Linked DNA regions of Homo sapiens: regions 1, 3, 4, 5 and 6 are each linked to region 2. The links are contacts of gene promoters, found by promoter capture Hi-C in human tissues and cell types (Jung and others, 2019). All regions are on one chromosome and are shown on one strand. The core of a region is centred on a gene start or on the middle of the fragment in contact, and the rest is flanking DNA. Distances in the headings are between cores, read along the strand shown. Region 1 has its middle 15 kb from the start of NPBWR2. Region 2 holds the start of GMEB2 (glucocorticoid modulatory element binding protein 2). Region 3 overlaps DNAJC5 (DnaJ heat shock protein family (Hsp40) member C5). Region 4 holds the start of MIR1914 (microRNA 1914). Region 5 overlaps PRPF6 (pre-mRNA processing factor 6). Region 6 has its middle 6.5 kb from the start of TCEA2.

What was found. Contacts are between HindIII fragments. The study calls those that stand out against the background at their distance.
Region 1: a contact is called between a fragment that was not itself captured here and the fragment with the promoter of GMEB2 in region 2, in 1 of the 25 tissues and cell types used here (dorsolateral prefrontal cortex).
Region 3: a contact is called between a fragment that was not itself captured here and the fragment with the promoter of GMEB2 in region 2, in 2 of the 25 tissues and cell types used here (dorsolateral prefrontal cortex and lymphoblastoid cells).
Region 4: a fragment that was not itself captured here is called in contact with the fragment with the promoter of GMEB2 in region 2 in 5 of the 25 tissues and cell types used here (H1 embryonic stem cells, dorsolateral prefrontal cortex, lymphoblastoid cells and 2 more).
Region 5: a fragment that was not itself captured here is called in contact with the fragment with the promoter of GMEB2 in region 2 in 2 of the 25 tissues and cell types used here (dorsolateral prefrontal cortex and spleen).
Region 6: a contact is called between a fragment that was not itself captured here and the fragment with the promoter of GMEB2 in region 2, in 2 of the 25 tissues and cell types used here (dorsolateral prefrontal cortex and lymphoblastoid cells).

Annotation. Positions count from the first base shown.
Region 1 is chr20:64,120,731-64,123,430 of GRCh38, forward strand. No RefSeq gene overlaps it. Among named protein-coding and RNA genes, the nearest start is that of NPBWR2, 15 kb to the left of the region's middle. RefSeq lists enhancers at 1-17, 2,384-2,700. The HindIII fragment of the contact is 5,841 bases long and covers 1-2,700 here.
Region 2 is chr20:63,625,814-63,628,513 of GRCh38, forward strand. It overlaps GMEB2 (glucocorticoid modulatory element binding protein 2), which reads right to left and starts at 1,288. Exons shown (of 10, transcript NM_012384.5): 1 at 1,143-1,288. MHENCR (melanoma highly expressed competing endogenous lncRNA for miR-425 and miR-489) reads left to right here and starts at 1,422. Exons shown (of 2, transcript NR_132417.1): 1 at 1,422-1,579; 2 at 2,377-2,700. RefSeq lists silencers at 650-1,189, 1,280-1,729. The HindIII fragment of the contact is 46,766 bases long and covers 1-2,700 here.
Region 3 is chr20:63,920,472-63,923,171 of GRCh38, forward strand. The region is part of intron 1 of DNAJC5 (DnaJ heat shock protein family (Hsp40) member C5); the gene reads left to right. Among named protein-coding and RNA genes, the nearest start is that of MIR941-5, 2.0 kb to the left of the region's middle. The HindIII fragment of the contact is 6,938 bases long and covers 1-2,700 here.
Region 4 is chr20:63,938,937-63,941,636 of GRCh38, forward strand. UCKL1 (uridine-cytidine kinase 1 like 1) reads right to left here. Exons shown (of 15, transcript NM_017859.4): 9 at 2,174-2,272; 10 at 2,014-2,107; 11 at 1,858-1,920; 12 at 1,658-1,780; 13 at 1,442-1,549; 14 at 1,214-1,370; 15 at 893-1,119. The coding sequence ends at 1,040. MIR1914 (microRNA 1914) reads right to left here and starts at 2,608; the gene lies at 2,529-2,608. The HindIII fragment of the contact is 6,155 bases long and covers 1-2,700 here.
Region 5 is chr20:63,992,135-63,994,834 of GRCh38, forward strand. PRPF6 (pre-mRNA processing factor 6) reads left to right here. Exons shown (of 21, transcript NM_012469.4): 4 at 1,273-1,351. Among named protein-coding and RNA genes, the nearest start is that of PRPF6, 12 kb to the left of the region's middle. The HindIII fragment of the contact is 7,819 bases long and covers 1-2,700 here.
Region 6 is chr20:64,055,366-64,058,065 of GRCh38, forward strand. It overlaps a transcript of TCEA2 not described here. Among named protein-coding and RNA genes, the nearest start is that of TCEA2, 6.5 kb to the right of the region's middle. RefSeq lists enhancers at 1-334, 335-1,024, 1,715-2,404, 2,405-2,700. The HindIII fragment of the contact is 6,157 bases long and covers 1-2,700 here.

The sequences.
Region 1 (2,700 bases), core at 106-2,605, 490 kb after region 2:
TGATTTAAGGATGCTGTGGTTTGAATATTTGTCACCTCCAAAACTCAAGTTGGAATTTAATCCCCAATGTGGCAGTATTGAGAGGTGGGGCCTTTAAGAGGTGATTGGGTCACAAGAGCTCTGCCCTCATGAATAGATTAATTTATTTATAGATTAATGGGTTATCATAGGAGTGGGGCTAGTAGCTTTATAAGAAGAGAGAGACCTGAGCCAGCACGCTCAGCCCCTCACCATGCGACGCCCTGCACTGCCTTGGGACTCTGGGGTTCCCACCAGCAAGAAAACCTCACCAGATGTGGCCCATTGACCTTGGACTTCCCAGCCCGCAGAACTGTAAGAAATACATTTTGTTTCTTTTAAATTACCCAGTTTCTGTTATAAGCAGCAGGAAACAGACTAAGACAAGGGGCAAGCCAGCCTCTGCCCACAAGGAGCTCCATTCTGGTGTGGAGAGACCCAAACACACAACTATGCTCTTTGTCTTGCTAGAGACTTGTTTTGTGGTGGCCCCAACCTCAACTTGCCAGCAATTTGTAAAAGAACCAAGTCAATTTTACACAGCAAATTAAACCCCAGGGTAAATGTGTGTACCTGGATTCCAATAGTAGGTAAAGATTCTTAATGGTGAAAACTATGACTCCTGTTAAAACTCTTGTGTTCTGTTCTTACCACTGAGTTTAAACAACAACTCTGTGCTAATCGTATAAAGAATATTTTTGTCTGGACTGTCTACGGCCAAGTTCTCCACCCTGGATGTGCACAGAATCCCCTGGGGACTTCAGGAGCTCACTGGAGCTGGTTCCACCCCCATGCCCAGGCTCTGATGTGCTTGGTCTGGGCTGGGGCCTGGGCACCAGTGTTGTCCTAGTTTTGTGTTGCTATGAAGGAATATCTGAGGCTGGGTAATTTCTTTTTCTTTTTCCTAGGTGAGGAGAAGGATAGAGGCTGGGCCATTATAAAGAAAAGAGGTTTGTTTGGCTCACGGTTCTGCAGGGTGTACGGGAAGCACGGTGCCGGCACCTGCTTCTGGGGAGGCCTCAGGGAGCGTGCACTCATGGCGGGAGGTGTCTCATGGTAAGAGAAGAGGCGAGAGAGAGGGGCGATGCCAGGATTTTTTTAAAACAACCAGCTCGTGTGGGAACTAATAGAGCAAGAACTCACTCATCACCATGAGGAGGGCACTAAACCATTCATTCTGGATCCTTCCCTATGACCCGAACACCTCCCACCAGGCCCCGCCTCCAACATCGGGGATTAAATTTCAACATGAGGTTCGGGGACAAACGTCCAAACTATAGCAGGTATTTCTGAAGAACACCCAGGTGTTTCAAAGCTGGGGTGAAGCCGTGGGTTAACACTGTTTTTCAGACATGGCTGGAGACCTGGGGTTCCTACACCACAGAGTCTCCCTGCCAGAGTTCTCAGCTCCTGGGGAGGCTGAGGTGGGTGGATCACTTGAGGTCAGGAGTTTGAGATCAGCCTGGCCAACATGGTGAAACCCCGTCTCTACTAAAAATACAAAAAATGTAGCCAGGCGTGGTGGCACACACCTGTAATTCCAGCTACTCAGGAGGCTGAGGCACGAGAATCACTTGATCCTGGGAGGCGGAGGTTGCAGTGAGCTGAGATCTCACTACTGCACTCCAGCCTGGGTGACGGAGTGAGACACTGTCAAAAAAAAAAAAAAAAAGAAAGAAGAAAGAGAAGTATCATGATAAAAGAAATAATATTTTAAAAAAAGACAGTGTGGTATTTGCATCAAGATAGACAGATCAATAGAACAAATTAGAGATACCAGAAATAGACCCACAAATATGAGCAAGTGATTTTCAACAAAGCTGCAAAGGCAATTCAATAAAGGCAAGTTTTGTTCTCAGTAAATGATGCTAAACAGTTGGATATCCATATGCAAAAAAATGAACTTTGATCCATACCTTGTACTATATTAAAATATTGTCAATATGGATCATAAACCTAAATGTAAAAGCTAAAATTATAAAACTTCTATAAGAGGACATAGAAGAAAACCTTTGCAAACTTAGATCAGGCAAAACATTATTAGATAGGATATCAAAACATAATCCATCAAATAAATAAGATGTTTCATCAAAACTAAGAACTTCTGCTATTCCAAAGACACTGCTAAGAAAATGAAAAGACAAGCCCAAGGCTGTAAGACAATTTTTGCAAATCACATATTTGATAAAGGACTTGTATCCAGAGTATATCAAGAACTCTCAAAACTCAATAACGTTAATGGAAAAAAACAGATTCTGTAAAATATTTTAAAGAGGTTTATTCTGAGTCAATATGAATGACCATGGCCTGGAGAAAACAGTTTCGAGAGGTTCTGAGAAAGCCTGGAGAACACAGTTTCGAGTTTCCTGAGAAAGCCTGGAGAACAGTTTCGAGAGGTCCTGAGAAAGCCTGGAGAACACAGTTTTGAGTTTCCTTAGAAAGCCTGGAGAACACAGTTTCGAGAGGTGCTGAGAAAGCCTGGAGAACACGGTTTCGAGAGCTCCTGGGAAAGCCTGGAGAACACGGTTTCGAGAGGTCCTGAGAAAGCCTGGAGAACACGATTTCGAGAGGTCCTGAGAAAGCCTGGAGAACACGGTTTCGAGAGGTCCTGAGAAAGCCTGGAGAACATGGTTTCGAGAGGTCCTGGGAAAGCCTGGAGAACACAGTTTCGAGTTTCCTGAG
Region 2 (2,700 bases), core at 38-2,537:
TCTCAAACTCCTGACCTCATGATCCGCCCACGTCGGGCTCCCAAAGTGGTGGGATTACAGGTGTGAGCCATCACACCTGGCCCAAGAAAATATTTTTAAACTAGTATTCTTGACCGGCACGGTCAACACTGATGTAATTGAAACTGTTGTATTTGAAGTGTTAGCAAAGAAAGAGAATTCTGGTTCAACAGAAAAGTCAGTCACGACTTTTCAGTCACGCATGAATTACACAGTAACCAAATAGATAACATGCCATGACTGACGACGGGCCCACAACAAATCAGCTCCGACCAACAGGGTCCACACCACCATGGGTCTACACAGATCCAGGTCCCGCCTGTGAGCCTACAGTGACGCGGGCCCCTGTGGGGTGGTCCCTGCAGGTCAGGTCCCTGAGAGTGGGTCCCAGTGGGGTGATCCCTGCGGGTCGCGTCCCTGCGAGTTGGGTGCCTGCCGGGTGGCCCCTGCGGGTCGGGTGCCTGCGGGGTGGTCCCTATGGGTCGCGTCCCTGCGGGTCGGGTGCCTGCGGGGTGGCCCCTGGGAATCGCGTCCCTGCGGGTCGGGTGCCTGCGGGGTGGCCCCTGGGGATCGCGTCCCTGCGGGTCGGGTGCCTGCGGGGTGGCCCCTGGGGATCGCGTCCCTGCGGGTCGGGTGCCTGCGGGGTGGTCCTTGTGGGTCGCGTCCCTGTGGGGTGGTCCCTGTGGGTCGCGTCCCTGTGGGGTGGCCCCTGCGGGTCGCGTGGTGGCCCCTGCGGGTCGGGTGCCTGCGGGGTGGTCCCTGTGGGTCGCGTCCCTGCGGGTCGGGTGCCTGCGGGGTGGTCCCTGCGGGTCGCACCCCTGCGGCGTGGTCCCCCCGGGATGGGTCCACCGAGGAGGCCGCTGGAGGCCGAGCCCGCGCCCGCCCGCGGCGCCAAGATGGAGGCAGGAAGCGCCGCCGCCCGCGCCCGCCACCGCCCGCGCCGCCCGCCTGACGCCGCCGTTGCGCCTGACGCCGCCGCCCGCGCGGCCGCCCCTCCCCCGGCCCTCCCCTCCCCCCGCCGTAACGTCCTGACGCTCCGCAGGGACCCCTGACTGGACGGCGGCGCGTGAGCGGAGCGAGAGGCCTCGCCGCGGGGGGGCCGCGGGCTCGCCGGCGCCGCTTACCTGGGGCCGCGCCGGGCCTGCTTAGGCACCCGGCGGGGGCGGCGGCGTCGGGAGCTGCGGCGGCGGCGGGCGGCGGCGGCGGCCGCGGGCTTCGCTCCTTGTTGGGGATTCGGCGGCGGCGGCGGCGCGGGCGCGCGCTTCCTAGTGACGCAGGCGGCGGGGCCGCGCACGCACGGGGCTGGGAGGGCCGGACACTTATTTGGCGCTCGCGGAGGAGGAAGGCGGGGCCGTGAAATAAGGCCCGACGGGCCCCGGGGCGCGTGCGCGGACCGACACTGTCAGCTCCTAACGCCGCAGGTTCCTCCTGGTCCCCGAGGCCCCCGGTCGGGCGTTGCCTGCCCCGCGCGGGCGGCCGGGCCGAGGGACGATGGTCAGTGGACGGACGGCGCCAGGGAGCAGTGCCCACGCGCGGCAGGGCGGTACCTTCAGGCCTCCAGGTACGGGCGCTCCTCGCCCGGACGCTGCTGTGTGTGAATGGGCGCGAGGGGACTCCCCTGCGGGGCGGACGCCTGAACACGAGGCTGTGGAGGAGGACGCTGTAGGGTGCGCGGACTCACGCGGAACATGCCAGAGGCTCAGCCAGCCACGGCGCTCCCAGCGTGGAGGGCGAGGGGCATCCGGGAGCGGCCGGGAGGGCTCGGTCACCCCTCAAGCTGTCACCCCAGTCCCACAACCAGCACCCCGATCCTATCGCAGTCCCACAGCCGACACCCCGATCCCACCCCTGCCCAACAGCCGGCACCCACCCCAATCCCATAGCTAACACCCCGGTCCCACCGCTGTCCCACGGCCGGCACCCCGATCCCACCCCAGTCCCGCAGCTGGCACCCCGATCCCACCCCAGCCCAACAGCTGGCACCCACCCCGATCCCACCGCTGTCCCACAGCCGGCACCCCGATCCCACCCCAGTCCCGCAGCCGGCACCCCGATCCCACAGCCGGCACTCACCCCGATCGCATAGCATAGCTGATACCCCGATCCCACCCCAGTCCCATAGCCAGCACCCCGATCCCACCCCAGTCCCATAGCCAGCACCTCGATCCCATAGATGACACCCCGATCCCGCCCCAGTCCTATAGCCCGCACCCCGATCCCACCCGAGTCCCGCAGCCGGCACCCCATCCCACCCATGTCCCACAGTCGGCACCCCGATCCCACTCGGATCCGGCAGCCAGCTTGGATCCTGTGGCCCTCCTCCAGCCCCCAGGGCTCATTTATATGTTTTATTGGCAGAGGCTGGGGCTGGCTCTGTTGGCCTCTGTGCTGGGTTTCTTCCTCTGCACCGCAGGACTGGCTCTCCTGACCTCTCCAGGTGTCATCGAACACCCTTGTGCTTGCTGTCACCCGCTGCCTGTCTGCAGGATCCCGGATTCCGTATCAGGGGACCGAAATTAGTCGGAAAATAGGAAGCAGGTGCTCGCTTGGATGGAACCCTGACCCTGTGCTCACACTTGTAGGAGGAGGGCTCTGCAGGCCGCCTCCCGGAACGGGAGGTTCCCAAGCCACTGCACTTCGGAGGGGCTGTAATTAGAGTTGCACATTCATTCAGTTCCCAGT
Region 3 (2,700 bases), core at 87-2,586, 290 kb after region 2:
AGCCGAGGTCATAGAGTGGCTGCCCTGGCGTAGGGAGGGAGGACACGGGTCCCCGCCATTTCAGAAGCTCAGCGTCCCTGCACGTGTGCGGTCTTGTCTGCCTAGGCATGTGTGCGGGCCCTGGGGCTGCTGCCAGCAGAACGGACTGGGATACGCTGGATTTGTAAAACGTGACCCTTTTTGTTTGCTTTTAATTTTTAATTTTTATTTATTTATTTATTTTTGAGACTGAGTCTGACTCTGTCACCCAGGCTGGAGTGCAGTGGTGAGATCTCGGCTCACTGCAACCTCCCCCTCGAGGGTTCAAGCGATTCTCCTGCCTCAGCCTCCTGAGTAGCTGGGATTACAGGTGTGTGCCACCACACCCAGTTAATTTTGTATTTTTAGTAGAGACAGGTTTTCTCCATGTTGGTCAGGCTGGTCTCGAACTCCTGGCCACAAGAAGCAATCCACCTGCCTCAGCCTCCCAAAGCCTTGTTTGCTTTTTTTTATTTTGTTTTGTTTTGAGACGGAGTTTCACTATTGTTACGCAGACTGGAGTGCAACGGCACGGTCTCAGCTCGCTGCAAACTCCACCTCCCGGGTTCAAGTGATTCTTCTACCTCAGCCTCCTGAGTAGGTGGGATTACAGGCATGTGCCATCACGCCCGGCTAATTTTGCATTTTTAGTAGAGATGGGGTTTCTCCATGTTGGTCAGGCTGGCCTCAAACTCCTGACCTCAGGTGATCCGCCCTCCTCAGCCTCCCAAAGTTTTGGGATTACAAGCTTGAGCCACCGTGCCCGGCCACCTTGTTTGCTTTTTAAAGATAATGATGTCACTAAAAGAGTTCTGACTGAGGCCGGGCCTGGTGGCTCACACCTGTAATCCCAGCACTTTGGGAGGCCGAGGCTGGTGGATCACGAGGTGTGGTGATCAAGACCATCCTGGCTAACACGGTGAAACCCCGTCTCTACTAAAACTGCAAAAAATTAGCCGGGCGTGGTGGCGGGTGCCTGTAGTCCCAGCTACTCAGGAGGCTGAGGCAGAAGAATGGCGTGAACCCGGGAGGCGGAGCTTGCAGCAAGCCGAGATAGTGCCACTGCACTCCAGCCTGGGAGACAGAGCGAGACTCCGTCTCAAAAAAAAAAAAAAAGAGTTCTGACTGAAGGTTGGAACTTAGCCCTCCAGAAATGAAGACTGCGAATAACGCTGATGGCAGCTCGTCACTTGCAGCAGGTTGCAGCACGTGCTGCTCGTGTAGCTGCGGCTGCACACCAGGCCTCTCCTTTAACTGTGTTATAACCTTTCTGTTGACATGGGATCCCCTTGAAAGTTTTTTTTTTGGAGACAGGGTCTCACTCTGTCACCCAGGCTGACGTCCAGTGGTGCAATTTCAGTTCACTGCAACCTCCTCCTCCCGGGTTCAAGCCATCCTCCTGCCTCAGCCTCCCAACTAGCTGGGATTACAGATGCACACCGTCACACCCAGCTAATTTTTGTATTTGTAGTAGAGATGAGGTTTCACCACGTTGGCCAGGCTGGTCTCAAACTCTTGATCTCAGGTGATTCAACCACCTCAGCCTCCCAAAGTGCTGGAATTACAGGCGTGAGCCACCACTCCCGGCCCCCTTGAAATTTAAACCAAGTTTAGGAAGAATGAAGTTGTGAGGTGCTACTTCAAACATCAGGTGGCAAACTCCCGGACTCATTACCCCAAGGAAATAGGCAGTCCAGGTTGGTGGCTCACGCCTGTAATCCCAGCACTTCGAGAGGCCGAGGCAGGCGGGTCACCTGAGGTCAGGAGTTCAAGACTATCCTGGCCAACATGGTGAAGCCCATCTGTACTAAAAATACAAAAAAATTAGCTGGGTGTGGTGGCGCGCGCCTGTAATCCCAGCCACTTGGCAGGCTGAGGCAGGAGAATCGCTTGAACCTGGGTGGTGGAGGGTGCATGGAGCCAAGATTGCACCATTGCACTCCATCCAGTTTGGGTGACAGAGTGAGACTCTGTCTCAAAAAAAAAAAAAAAATAGACATCAGAAAGGGTTGGCTCCTGTGATCTCGGCACTTTGGTGACCATGACCCAAGGCAGGAGGATCACTTGAGCCAAGGAATTCAAGATCAGCCTGAGCAACATAGACCCCGTCTCTGCAAAAAATTTCTAAAAACTTAGCTGGCATGGTGGCTCACGCCTGTAGTCCCACCTATTCAGGAGGCTGTGTTGGGAGGATCACTTGAGTCTGAGAGGTTGAGGCTGCCATGATCCCTTATCACACCACTGCATTCCAGCCTGGGTGACAGAGCAAGACCCTGTCTCCAAACAAACAAAAAAGCAAAAAATGGTGTTTTACCTAGGTATTTACCATTTCCAGTGGTCTTCATTCCTTTCTAAAAATCTAGGTTTTAGCCGGACATGGTGGCTCATGCCTGTAATCCCCAGCACTTTGGGAGGCTGAGGCGGGTGGCTCACCTGAGGTCAGGAGTTCCAGACCAGCCTAGCCAACATGGCAAAACCCAATCTCTACTAAAAATACAAAAATTAGCCAGGCGTGGTGGTACGTGCCTGTAGTCCCAGCTATTCAGGAGGCTACGGCAGGAGAATCGCTTGAGCCTGGAAGGTGGAGGTTGCAGTGAGCTGAGATTGCACCACTGCACTCCAGCCTGGGCAACAGAGTGAGACTCTGTCTCAAAAAAGAAAAAAAAAAGAATAAGTCACATT
Region 4 (2,700 bases), core at 197-2,696, 310 kb after region 2:
GGATCCGGGATCCGGCATAATCGAGGTGCCAGGCTCCGAGGACGCCACGCTTTTGGCCGTGGACTTCCACGCAGAAAGACACTGGCGCCTGAGAGGACGGGGACGACCGTGTCCCGTGTCAGATGCGCCTGGCCCACGGCTGAGTCCCCAGCATCAGCCCTCAGCTCCACGGCTGAGCCCCGGGAGGCTGATTCAGTTATCTGGGCCTCTCCGGGGCCCGACGTGTGGGCGCCGCGCGTGCACCTCCTCTTCCTCAGTAAACCACGGCGGCGACTCCTCTCGGGGAGCCCGGGGGGGGCCTGCTCGGAAAGCAGGGTGGGCAGGACCTAAGGGAACCCACGCTTGCGGGCGTGGGCACGGCAGAGAGCACGGGATGCGGGTGGGCCTCCAGGTCTGGAGGGGTGAGCGAGGCGGGCCCTGAGCAGCAGTGGCTCCGGGCTCGTGGGCCCCGGGTGGCCCCGCCTCCAAGCGCAGGCCCCCACTTCCGCCCTGGTCTGCCTCCTGGCTTTGCTGCCTCCAGCGACTTGTCCTGACGGGAAGGACCCTCCCCCCCCCCAACTGTGGGGAGGACCCTGATGGTACAAATTTGTGGGTGGGGGCAAAACAGCCTGCCTCTTGTGAGACCCAGAGCACCAGGGGGCCCTGTCCCCTCCCTAGGTCCAGGCCAGGTGGCCACCAAGCTATGGGTTCTAGGGGCCCCATCTAGCAGAGCTAGGAGCTGCAGGGCCCAGTTCTACCCCTTCCTTCATCTGGCACAAGTGCAAGACTGGGAATGCTTGGTCCTGCAGGGGAGAAGGCAGGGCCCTCAGCTCCCTCCCTCCCTCCCCATGGGAGTCTCCACAAATGCATGCCTCAGCCAGGACACCTCTCCTGTGCTGTAACCAATCACACCTTCATTTTTCTAAAGCTTTATTTATTTTATAAAATGCATAGAATAAATTATACTAGTAACATTTTAAAAATTAACATCTTTGTATTCAGCAGTCCTGGGTCAGGAGGCAGGAGGAGGGTGGTGGGGACGGGATGGCTCACTGGGCAGCTAACCCGTGTAGGCCACTTCCTCCTCGTCACTGCCATCGGGGACCGCGTCTGTCCCAAAGTAGCGGTCGCCAAAGTTCCCTGGAAAAAGGGGGGGGGGGGTCCAGTGTGGTGGGGCCTCCCAGGGCCACCCACCCTGCCCTCATGTGCGGCTGAAGGGCCCGGGCAGCCTCACCAATGCCTGGGATGATGCGGAAAAGGTCATTGACCCGCTTGTCCACCGCCGTGGTGATGATTCTCACTCGCGGAAATGCATAGGCCACTGAGTGCACGCCCATCTCTGCCATGAGCAGCGACAGCAAAAAGATCTTGTCCTCAGGCACGTCGTGGTCCTACCGAGTGTATTGGGCAGGTAAATCCCACCTCTGCCTGAACCTGCCCCGCCTACCCAGGGCTCACTCACCAGGAGCACGCGCACTGCCATCATGGCCGCCGCGCCCGTGGACACGGTGCAGTCCATGAGGATCACGTGGTCATCGCTGATGTCCTTGGGCAGCCTCAGGTAGTGGAGCTGCGGGCAGCAGGGGTCAGGCTGCAGGTGGGGCTCCCTGCGTCCCCTTGCTGTGAGCTCCCTCTGCCCCCTACCCCCGGGCTCATCACCCCGGCTGCCCCCAGGCACCTCGGGCTCCCCGGTAAGCTGGTTGGTCTGGATGAGGATGGTGCCGATGCGCACGTCTTTGCACACAGCGCGCAGCGCGGGCTCCATGGTTTCACCGGCGCGCAGAATGGACACACCGGTGATCTGCGGGGAGGGGAGGCTAAGCGCCCACATCCCGCCCCAGCAGCCTGTCCCGCGCCCAGGTGTGCCCAGGCAGGTACCTGCTTCCCCGCATAGCACTTGCCCGCATAGTCCTGCCCCTGCGGGGTCTGTACGACGCAGTCCTGTGGGGTGCAGGGTGAGGACTCCGGTGAGCGCAGGGAGCTCGCACCGGCTCCAAGACCCACCCTCCACCTCGCGGGCTACGGGCTACGAACCTGAAAGGGCAGGAAGGAGAGCGCGTGCTCGATGAGCAGCCGCATCAGTCTCTTGGAGTAGAAGATGAACTCGTCGCGACTGGTCTCCTTGTCCCTGTGGGGCCAACAGTTGAGCGGGAGCACGCGCCCGGGGCCGCCCCGTCCCCAGGTGGGCCCTCACCTGATGATGGTGTGCATGCCCCGTACCTGCGGCGTGCTCTTCAGGACGCTCAGCGTCCGGGGCAGCGGGTGGCACTGGTGTGCCGAGGCCAGCGCAGCCCTGGGGACAAACCGATGGGGAACACTCAAGAAGGGGGTCTTTTCCCAGAGCCCTCCCTCCCCACAGGACGGCTGTGCGTCACTGTGAGGGGAACACACGGGCCAGGCACAGCACGAGGTGCAGAGCGGGCCTGACTTCTGCCTGGGGCTGAGCTGGGGGGAGACGTCGCCCTACCTGAGCTGTCAGGCAAAGGCGAAAGATGGCGGCGAACAACGGGGCAAGCTCACCATCAGGCAGAAAGCTAGCGGGGTAGGCTGTGAGGGCCCCTCCCAGTGCGGGACCCCTCCTGCGCTAAGAGGAAGCAGAAGTGGGCCGGGCACAGGGCGGGCTCACACGTGCTGATAGGTGTCATACCCCAGAATGGGTAGCTTGTCCCCAGCCTCTCCCCGGGGGAACTAAAGCTTTGTGGGGTCAGGCCCCGCCCTGGC
Region 5 (2,700 bases), core at 193-2,692, 370 kb after region 2:
TCTGTCGCCCAGGCTAGATTGGCTCACTGCAACCTCCACTTCCTGGATTCAGATGATTCTCCTGCCTCAGTCTCCCAGGTAGCTGGGGATTACAGGTGCCCACCACCATGCCCAGCTAATTTTTATTTTTATTTTTATTTTTTTGAGACGAAGTTTCACTCTTGTCACCCAGGCTGGAGTGCAATGGCATGATCTTGGCTCCCTGCAACTTCCACCTCCCAGGTTCAAGCAATTCTCCTACCTCAGCCTCCTGAGTAGCTGGGATAACAGGCATGCGCCACCACGCCTGGCTAATTTTCATATTTTTAGTATAGATGGGGTTTTACCACATTGGCCAGGCTTGAACTCCTGACCTCAGGTGATCTGCCCACCTCGGCCTCCCAAAGCGTTGGGATTACAGGTGTAAGCCACCACGCCTGGCCTTCTTAGGTGTTTATGGGATGGTCCTACCTTTGGGATTTTGTGAATTTTCAAGCAGTAAATATACACATGTCCAAATGGAGGTATTTAGATCAAAGTAAGATCTTTTTTTTTTATTTTAATGAATTTCTACATGTTTTTATTTGGTGGATAATTGAATTAGTAGACTTACGAATGTATTTATATTTATTTATTTAGAGGCAGAGTCTCTCTGTGTTGCCCAGGCTGGAGTGCAGTGGTGCGATCTTGGCTCACTGCACCCTCTGCCTCCTGGGTTCAAATGATTCTGCCTCAGCCTCCCAAGTAGCTGTGATTACAGGTGTGTGCTACCATGCCCAGCTAAGAATGTATTCATAGTTACCTTAAAATATATTTGATTTGGGCTGGGTGCGGTGGCTCACACCTGTAATCCCAGCACTTTGGGAGGCCAAGGTGGGTAGATCACAAGGTCAGGAGTTCGAGAACAGCCTGGCCAGGATGGTGAAACCCCGTCTCTACTAAAAACACAAAAATTAGCTGGGAGTGGTGGCGAGCACCTGTAATCCCAGCTACTTGGGAGGCTGAGGCAGGAAAATCACTTAAACCCAGGAGGTGGAGGTTGCAGTGAGCTGAGATTGCGCCACTGCACTTTAGCCTGGGTGACAGAGCAAGACTCCATCTCAAAAAAAAAAATGTGTGTGTGTGTGTGTGTGTGTGTGTGTGTGTGTGTATATGTATATATATATATATATATTTGATTTAGCTACTAAGAGTATGGAATTGTTCTTTTTGGTGATTTAATTGAGATGGATAATAAATTTGCTTCAGAACAGACATGCAGTGTTTCTGATGTGTGCATGTTTTATTTCCTAGGGAGCAAAGGGAGAAAGAAGAAATAGAGAAATATCGTATGGAACGCCCCAAAATCCAACAGCAGTTCTCAGACCTCAAGGTGAGCCGATGAAGCGGTGAATGGTGTGCGGTTTCTAACGCTCTCACCCTAACCCGCAGAGACTCAGACTGCTCTTACGTGGAATTTATGAGACTTTACGTTTTTAATTTAGGGGGTCATTGCTTAGAAGAAGAAAGTGTTTGCTTCAGTATGTTTAATTATATGTGTGTAAAAAAAAACCCTTCCCCTACTGTAAAAGGTAGGACAAATGAACTTATTTTCTTTGTAATTTTGACTCCATTTATACCTAAGATTTTCTTTTTTCTTTTTTCTTTTTTTTTTTGGAGGCAGTCTGGCTCTGTTGCCCTGGCTGGAGTGCAGTGGCGTGGTCTCAGCTCACTGCAACCTTCACCTCCTAGGTTCAAGCAATTCTTGTGCCTCAGCCTCCTAAGTAGCTGGGATTACAGGTGCCTGCCACCATACCCAGCTAATTTTTGTATTTTTAGTAAAGACAGGATTTCGCCATGTGTACCAGGCTGGTCTCAAACTCCTGAACTCTAGTGATCTGCCCACCTCAGCCTCCCAAAGGGCTGGGATTACAGGCGTGAGCCACCACGTCTGGCCCCATTTATACGTAAGATTTTCTAAACTGTGTCCCCTGGGCTTTGAGAGAATAATTTACATTTTAGTGAAGTTGAACAGATCCAATAAATTGATTTTTCTTTTCTTTTTCTTTTTTTTTTTTTTTTGAGACGGAGTTTGGCTCTTGTTGCCCAGGCTGGAGTGCAATGACGCGATCTCAGCTCACCGCAACCTCCGCCTCCCAGGTTCAAACGATTCTCCTGCCTCAGCCTCCCTAGTAGCTGGGATTACAGGCATGTGCCACCATGCCCGGCTAATTTTGTATTTTTAGTAGAGATGGGGTTTCTCCATGTTGGTCAGGCTGGTCTCGAACTCCCGACCTCAGGTGATCTGCCCGCTTTGGCCTCCCAAAGTGCTGGGATTAACAGGCATGAGCCACCGTGCCCGGCCTAAATTGATTTTTCTAAGTGAAGTAGAAAACTATTTTTGGGGCTGGGTACAGTGGCTCACATCTGTAATCTCAGCACTTTGGGAGGCTGAGGTGGGAGGATCACTTGAGCCCAGGAGTTTGAGACCAGCCTTGGGGAGAACCTGTCTTTACAAAAAATAAAAACTTAGCCAGGCATGGTGGCCCACGCTTGTGGTCCCAGCAACTTGAGAAGCTGAAGTGGGAGGATCACTTGAGCCTGGGAGGTTGAGGCTGCAGTGAGCTGTGATTGTGCCACTGAATCCAGCCTGGGCAACAGAATGAGACCCATCTCAAAACAAAAGTAAAAAACAGTTGCTGCATCCAAATCCCTTCTAAAGCTTGGTGATCTGGAGGCTAG
Region 6 (2,700 bases), core at 37-2,536, 430 kb after region 2:
AAGCCAGAACTTGGGGTGCCAGGTGTAGGGAGGGGGGCTGTGTCAGGGCCACACATGGCTTTTGCCCTTGGGGGTTCATCAGGTATAGGGAGGGGCTGTGTCAGGGCCACACGTGGCTTTTGCCCTTGGGGGTTCATGGGAGGAGTCTTTTCACAGAGGGAGGAGCATGTGCCAAGGCCCTGGGGCAGGGAAGTCTGCTGGTGTGAGCAGAGCAGGGGGTGCAGAGAGGAGGGGATGAGGCTCAGAGGGAACAAGGGGCTGAGTTGGCTCTGGGAGGGTCTTGCATTTTCTGAGTGAGGTGGGACCTTGGGAGGTTCTGAGTGGAGTGTGATCTGCCTCAGCTCAGCTGCTACGTGAAGACGGGGCTGTGCGGGGCAGGAGGGACGGGCAGTCCCCTGCCAGAAGGCAGGGGGCTCTGCTTCTGCCGCGGCGGGAGCCTGGCCAAGGTTTGCTCTCAGACCCCATCTGGCTGCCCCAGGAGTCTCCCTGGTCTCTCTCTGGGAGGCCTGGGCCCCTGGGAGGTGCCGCCTCAGGGAACCCTGGTTTTGCTGCCCTGTGAGTCAGGTCTCTAGGCTTCACCCATAGCCCCGACCCCACGGCTGCCTGGGGCCTCTGGGGAAGGGGAGGGTGGAGTGGCCGCCAGGCTGGCGGGCTGGCAGGGCTGCATTTCTGGGAATTGTGTGGGGGAAGTGCATTGTTAGAGCAAGCCTGGAGCAGGCCGCCAGGGCCGCCACTGGCCTCTGGGGATGCCTCTTGCCTCCCCCAGCGTTGCTTCTGTGGGAGGGAGCTGGGACTGGGCCAAGGCTATGGGCTGGGCTGGGGACTTTCCGAGAGACGCTGCCCTGGGCAGGTGGCTCTTCCCATTCTACAGACTGGGCGACTGAGGTCCAGAGAGCCGGGTGCTGCAGTGGCATAGCCAGGAGCAGTGGGCCCAGTCCCCATCCCCTGCCCTCCTCTGCTGGCGCATGGGACAGGGGAGCACTTGCTGGACCTAAGCCCCGTCGCTGCCCTGCTGGTGGGGGCATCCAAGGGAGGCCTGGGTGGGGTCCACTGGGGTCACAGCTCGGCAGAGCCCCCAAGGTGGGCTGGAGGGTCTGATGGAAAGGGGCGCAGAGACGGCTCCTAGGTGCTTGGGCTGTGGGAGGGCTGCCCATGGGGTGGCAGGGGGTGGGGGCTCCTGGGGCTGCAGGATCCCCAGCCCCCGCTCTGTGGTTGCAGGAAGCAAGGGGGGCTCCGTGTGAGTTTGGCAGCGGGAGCCTTCCCACCACGGCGCTGCCTCAGCCAGAGGGGAAGCATGGATAGCGGCCACTGGGGTCATGGCCGGCTTTGGGCGGGCAGGGGGCAGGGGACACAAATAGAAAAATAAATGGCCTGAGTTTCCGACGTTTCCTGGACTCAGGATGGGGGAGGGGCAGGCCTTTGGGCCAAAGGTGCGGCTGGCCCTGTGGGGTGGACCAGGGGTTTCTCCCCAGACGCCTGTTGGGGCCAGGGCTGCCCCCTCAGACCTCCAAGGTGGGTCACATCTCCCCCTTAGAGCCCTCAGGACAGGGCCCCGTTGCCCACAGAGAATTCCTAAAGGCCTATCCATATGTCCCTGTCCATAAAGACGTCGAGTGTGGAGGACACCCTGGAGGAGGAGATGGAACCCTCCTGTTTGCTGGGGCTCGGCCCCCGGTGAGGCTGGCTGCAGGTGACCACAGAGACCTAGCCTGGTGTCGTGCGGCCGCTGGGTCCGTGAAGGGGAGTGAGGCACTCCTCACCCTGTGGCAGCTCCTAGTCAGGAGGCCTCTCCCCTCCACCTGCACGTCATGTGGCTGTGGCTCCCAGGACCAGCGCCTGGAGCGGGTGAGTGAACGTCCCTCTCCTCCGTGGGCACTGCCTCCGCTGTGAGCCACCCTTCAGGCTACGTGCATTTCCGCCTGTTCTCAGGGTTTAACCGAAACCGAACATTAACCGTAGCCCTAACGCGGCTGAGGGATCCAGGCCTTGCCTCTGGGCCGGGTGAGAGACAGACACTCGCCAACCAGTCCGCAGTGGCTCCCCGTGTGTGCGAGGCTCCCGCCTGCGTGTGTGCGTGTGCATGTGTGCCTGCGCACAGGGGAGGGAAAGTTCTTCAGCTGCCGAGGGCGGGAGTAGGGGCTGGAGCAGCACCCTGCGGCGAGGCCCCACAGGAGAATCGATGGTTCTGATGCTGTCAGCCTCTGGGTGCAAATTCTGAGGGCCCGGGAGCGTCTGGCGGCCCTGAGCAGCTTGCTGGGGAAGCTCCGTGGAGGAGGAAGTCCGGAGGTCGGTAAGCTCCAGGAGGGGTCTGCTGGGGGGCGAGAATGCTCTGAGCAAGGTCCCAGAAGTCCAGAGCTCCTGAGGGACCCGGGACCAGGGGCACTGGGGAGTTTCAGGGTTGGTCGCCGCCACAGCCCTCACAAACGAGGCCACTCTCTAGGACTGGCCACCTTCTCACCTCGGCCACTTCACAGTCCTGGGGGGCAGCTGTGGCTCTTGCTGGGAACCACCTGGACCTCCCTGGGGCTTGGGGGTGGGGTGGTGGTGAAGTGAGGCCCACCCGTCCGTGGCTCACTCCTGCCACCTAGAGGCCACTGTTCCTCACAGGCTCTGGGGCCAGTCACCTGCCTCTGCCCGGGGGCGGGACCATCCCACCGGATTGCAGGTTCCCTGATCACCAGGATGGGCCTACACCTCTCC